Regions from separate parts of the Homo sapiens genome. Here region 1 is linked to region 2. The links are contacts of gene promoters, found by promoter capture Hi-C in blood cells and fetal thymus (Javierre and others, 2016). All regions are on one chromosome and are shown on one strand. Each heading gives the region's core, a stretch centred on a gene start or on the middle of the fragment in contact. The rest is flanking DNA. Distances are from core to core; before and after follow the strand shown.

The links. The method cuts DNA at HindIII sites, captures the fragments that hold promoters and counts their contacts. A CHiCAGO score of 5 or more calls a contact.
Region 1: a contact is called between a fragment that was not itself captured here and the fragment with the promoter of PTGR1 in region 2, in 1 of 17 cell types (naive CD8 T cells). The highest score is 5.0, in naive CD8 T cells.

Annotation. Positions count from the first base shown.
Region 1 is chr9:112,362,130-112,365,017 of GRCh38, reverse strand. It overlaps a transcript of PTBP3 not described here and the pseudogene RPL32P22. Among named protein-coding and RNA genes, the nearest start is that of HSDL2, 17 kb to the left of the region's middle. The HindIII fragment of the contact is 5,583 bases long and covers 1-2,888 here.
Region 2 is chr9:111,598,142-111,600,950 of GRCh38, reverse strand. It overlaps PTGR1 (prostaglandin reductase 1), which reads left to right and starts at 1,304. Exons shown (of 10, transcript NM_001146108.2): 1 at 1,304-1,348. RefSeq lists an enhancer at 881-1,453. The HindIII fragment of the contact is 792 bases long and covers 799-1,590 here.

The DNA of each region.
Region 1 (2,888 bases), core at 9-2,508, 760 kb before region 2:
ATCTAAAAATGTTGAACACGTAGAAGCAGCAAATAGAAGGGTGGCTGCCAGAGGCTGGGTTGTGGTGGGGGTGGAGGAATGGAGATATGTAGATTACACGGTACTGAAACTGTTAGATAGGGTCAGTAAGTTCTGGAAATCTAATATACAACATAGTGACTTAGTTAGTGGTAATGTATGTAAGTATGCCTTGTTTTATGGAGCTTCACTTTATTGTACTTCACAGATAATGCATTTTTTACAAATTGAATATTTCTGTCAACCCTGTGTCACGCAAGTCAATTGGTGCCATTTTTCCAATAATGTGTCCTCACTTTGTGTCTCTGTCATATTTTCCTAATTCTCACAATATTTCTTTTTTAAATTTCTTAATTTTTTAAAAATAGAGACAGGGTCTTGCCCTGTTGCACAGGCTAGAGTACAGTGGCGTGATCATAGCTCACTGCAGCCTTAGACGCCTAGGCTCAAGCTATCCTTCCACCTCAGCCTCACGAGTAGCTGGTTCTACAGGCTTATAGTTTTTGTAAAGACAGGGTCTTGCTGTGTTGCCCAAGCTGGTCTTGAACTCCTGGCTCAAATGATCCACACACCTCGGTTTCCCAAAGTGCTGGGATTACAGGCATGAGCCATGGTGCCTGGCCCCCTGGTACTTTTCTTTACCAAAATACTTATAAAAGGTTAGTATGCTCTTTTGCTTTTCTTCTGCTTTGCAAATAACTAGGGCTTTTTTTTTGTCTTCTTGAAATTCTCTTATCAAATTAAACTTTTATTGCCTGTTTTTAAAGATCTTGCTACTGTGAGACCCTGTCTCAAAAAAAAAAAAAAAAAAAAAAAAAAAAAGAACTGACCTAGCAAGCCACAGTGACATGGAGGAAAGTTAAATGCATATTACTAAGCGAAAGAAGCCAGTCTGGAAAGGGTACACACTGTATGATTCCAAATATATGACATTCTGAAGAGGCAAAACTATGGAGACAGTAAAAAGGATCAGTGTTTGCCGGTAGTTAGTGAGGAGGGAGGGATCAATAGGCAGAGATCAGAAGATTTTTAGGGCAGTAAAACTATTCTGTATGATACCATAATGTTACAGATATGTCATTATATATTTGTCAAAATTCACAGAAGGTACAACACAGAGTGAACCCTATGGATTTTGGTTGATAATGATATGTCAATGTTGGTTTATTGATTATATCAAATTTACCATACCAACTGGGGCTGTTAATGGTGGAGGAGGGAGTATGTGGAAACTCTCAGTACTTTTTGCTCAATTTTTCTGTGAATCTAGCACTCTTCTAAAAAATCAAGTCTAATAATTACAAAACAAAAGCAAAAACCATGTGGTATTGGCATAGGGATAGACATATAGATCAATTAATAGAATAAATAAACTGATACACTTATGCTCTATTGATTTTCAGCAAGCATACCAAGACTAATAGGTCAAGAATAGCCTTTGTGTGTGTGTGTGTGTGTGTGTGTGTGTGTGTGTGTGTGTGTGACAGTTTTGCTCTGTAGCCCAGGCTGAGGTGCATTGGTGTGTGGATCTTGGCTCACTGCAGCCTCAACCTCCTGGGCTCATGCAGTCGGCCCACTTCAGCCTCCCGAGTAACTGGGACTACAGGCTGGTATTTTTTGTAGAGACAGGTCTCACCATGTTGCCCAGGCTGGGCTTGAACTCCTGGGCTCTAGAGATCTGCCCTCCTCAGATTCCCAAAGTTCTGAGATCACAAGCGTGTGCTACCAAGCCCAGCCCCAGATATTCGTATTAACTAGATATTCTTATTCATAAAAGAATGAGTTTGGACCCACCCCCTGACTCCATCTCAAAAATTATATGAAAATTAATTTTTCACAGTTTTTATGGTTTTATTTCAACACAAAACATGCACATGAGCTGTCTATTCCCTTTCTTTGCTGTGCTGCCTGGCATTGCGACTGGTGACTCTGATGGCCAGCTGGGCTGCCCTTTCCATGATGGCTTTGCAGTTCCAGAGGACACATTGTGAGCTATCTCAGGACAGTAAGATTTTCTGCATGTCAGCAGCCCTTCCAAGTCCTTGACAATGCGTACCAGAAACTTCCAGAAGCCGCTGGGCAGCATGTGCTTTGTGTTTTCATTGCTTCTCTATAACCAATGTTGGGCATCAAGATCTGGCCCTTGAATCTTCTATGAACGCAGTTGTCTCTGGGTTTCCACCGGTTATGCTTAATTTTGACATATTGTTCTGACTGGTGGTGAATGAACTTCTTGCTCCTCTTTTTGATGATCTTGGGCTTCATGAGGGGTCTGATGGTGGCCATGATGGTGAGTAAGAGATGGCTCTAAAAATCAACCCCAAATGGATCAAAGACCTTAAATGTAGGAGCTAAAATTATAAAGCTCTTGAAAGAAAACATAAGGGTAAATCTTCATGACCTTGGATTTGACAATGGATTCTTAAATATGACACCAAAAGCACAAGCCACAGAAGGGAAAAAAAAGAAGATACATTGAACTTCATAAGAATTAAAATAATTAATTTGTGCATCCCAGGACACTATCAAGAAAGTGAAAAGACAACCTAGAGAATGAGAAAAAATACTTATAAATCATATACCTGATAAGGCTCCAGTGTCCAATATATACACAGAATTCTTACAACAGCTACAGAAAAATGAACAACCCAACTAAAAAATGGGCAACGATTTGAATAGATATTTTTTCTTTTCCTTTTGCTAGACAGGGTCTTACTTTGTTGCTCAGGTGCAACCATGGCTCACTGCAGCCTCAACCTCTCCCTCTCAGTTATCCTCCCCTCTCAGCCTCCTGAGTAGCTGAGACTACAGACTCATACTTTTTGTAGAGACAGGGTCATGCCATGTTGCTTAGGCTGGTCTCAAACTCC
Region 2 (2,809 bases), core at 55-2,554:
TAAAATCCCCAAGTCCCAGTACTCAGAATGTAACTGTATTTGTAGATAGGGCCTTTAAAGAGGTAATTAAGGTTACATGAGGCCATATTAGTGAGCCCTAATCCATTTGACAGTATTTGAAGACAAGGCCTTCAAAGACGTGTTTAAGTTAAACGGAGGCTGACAAGTGGGGCTCTAATCCAATATGGCGGGTATCCTTACAAGGAGAGACATTGAGCCAGGTGTGGTGGTGGGCCTGTAATCCCAGCTTCTAGGGAGGCTGAAGGAGGATCACCTGAGTCCAGGAGTTCAAGGCTGCAATGAGCTATGATGCCCACCATTGCACTCCAGCCTGGGTGACAGAGCAAGACCTCAAAATAATTAAAATTAAATAAATAAATTAAAGACATTGAATCTTCACAATGACTGGAAGTTAGGCATTCTTCTTATCCCCATCTTGCAGATGGCTGAACTGAGTGAGGCAAGGAGAAGGTAAGTAAGTCTTTGAAAGCTACACCACTAGTAAGTGGCAGGTGCAGGCTTCGAACCTGCAGTCGTCTAATACCAACGACTTAGCTTCACGTTCAACCCCTGCCTGAGACCACCTCTCCTTGCAGAAGCCAGGTCAAGGCCTGATGTTTGCTAGGGTGTGATGGGTGGGGTGCCTCAGTGGCAAGAGTGCTCACTCCTGCCTGGGGGAGTCTGGCAAGGGTTCACAGAGGTGACCTTGAATTGGCTGGTGGAAGGCGAGTAGGTGTTCAGCAGGCGGACTGGGGACAGACAGGCAGGGTGTCTGCACCGCAGCCCTGGGCGAAAGCTTGCACTGCGGGCAAGCGGCAGGGCTGACGGGGAGCCCAGGGATCGGAGCCAGCACCGGGGGCTTATTAGGGCTGCGGCCGCCCCAGGCCCTGCCTTTGGACCCTTCCGGCCTGCTTGGCAGATGCCACGGTTGGTTCCCCCACGGGGCATATTTCCGCCGGGCTCCAACTTAGGACCCCAGGCGGAGGTCCAGTGTCAGCTGGACAAAGCTCTGTTAGGAATTTTCCTATCAGGAGTCCCTAACCCCCTACACGCACACACACGGGCGCGCGGGCGCGCACGCACACACACGCACACATGCACACATACGCGCGCGCACATGCACATAGGCACACAGAGATACGCGCACACACACACACAAACGCACTCAGATTTCCCGGACCCTGGTTTTCCTCCTGTGACCCTTTCGGGGCCGGGCTCTCACCCTAAAGAAGCAGCCCCGCCCTGGGGTGGCCCCACCCTCTCTTGGGACCTGTCATAAGTCGGACCCCGGGCGCCCGGCTGCGCAGTCCCAGCCGCCTTCCCCAGGCAGTGGAACCTTCGGGCTCCTGTAAGTAGACCTCCTGCTTTCTTTCCTTCCCTTTTCTCCCTCCTCTAACCCCCTTGCTTTCTTCCTGCCAAGTTTCTAGACGCCCCAGTGGAGGAGGTTTGCTCTTAGACCTCCTCCCCTTACGTCGAAATGACCGCTGGGTCTTGCACTCGGAGGATCTTGGGAGCCGACGTCCCGACGCCTCCCGCCCCCGCAGTTCCTTGGAGAGCTTGGAGCCGCGCGCCGGAGGGAATAGGAAAGCTTGGTTACAACCCGGGACACCCGGTAGCTTCCTGCACCCGGGAGGGGGCTGGCCAGGGAACTTGCTGGACTGCACAACTGGGGGAGGGTAGAAGAAGAAAGATCGGGGTGGGGATTCGGGAATGGGCAAGCGGGCGGCGGGCGGCGGGAGGCGAGGGTGGGAGCAAAGGGCGAGCGGGCAAAGGCCGGGCGCCGCGCCAGGCCCCCTCCTCGGGCGGGCGAGACTTTCCCGGGACCTGGCCCCTCTGCGGCCAGACCCTTTCCAGGAGGGCTTCTGGACTTGTAGCGAGTTTGGAAGCCCAGCGGTTGCTTTTTTGGGGAAAGGGACAAAGATGTGTGAACTCTAAAGAAGTTGAACTCATAGAAATAACGACTAGAATGATGGTTGCCAGAGGCTGGGAGCGGGTTCGGGGGGGAATGGGGGCTTGTTGGCCAAAGGGTACGAAGTTCAGAGACGAGAGGAGTAGGTTCTGAGATCTGTTGCACAGCAGAGTGACTAGAGCCAATAATGTGTATTTCGAAATAACAGAGTAAACTGCAAATGTCTCACCGTAAAAATGATACGTAGGGCCTGGCGCGGTGGCTCACGCCTGTAATCCCAGCACTATGGAAGGTCGAGGCGGGCGAATCATTTGAGCTCAGGAGTTCTAGACCAGTCTGGCCAACATGGGGAAACCCCGTCTCTACTAAAAGTACAAAAATTAGCTGGGCGTGGTGGCGGGCGCCTGTAATCCCAGCTACTCAGGAGGCTGAGACAGGAGAACCGCTTGAACCCGGGAGACGGAGGTTGCAGTGAGCTGAGATCGCGCCATTGCACTTCAGCCTGGGCGACAGAGCGAGACTCCGTCACAAAAAAAGTCTTAATTTTAAAAAAAGAAAAGAAGGAACAACCCCGGGCTGCAGATCAGACCGCCCCCCTGGCTCCCTCGCAATGCGGGAGTGCTCCCTCCAGGTCACCGTGTCCCCTCCCGCGGCACCGGTAGGGGAGCTGGGGAGATCACTGGCAGCTCCAAATGGTTTCGTAACTGGATTGTTTGTAGCGGATGCACCCGCGGGAAGGCGCAGGTCCCAAGTGATTCGGCAGAGTTCAGTCCAAGCAGAACATCCTGAACCCCCAGCTCGGGGCAGCCTTCATCATCTTCCCTTGCTTTGGTGCAGCGTTTCAGCTCAAAATCGGTTTGGTGTGGAGTTTAAACTCAAATCCCTACTGGGCCAAAGAAA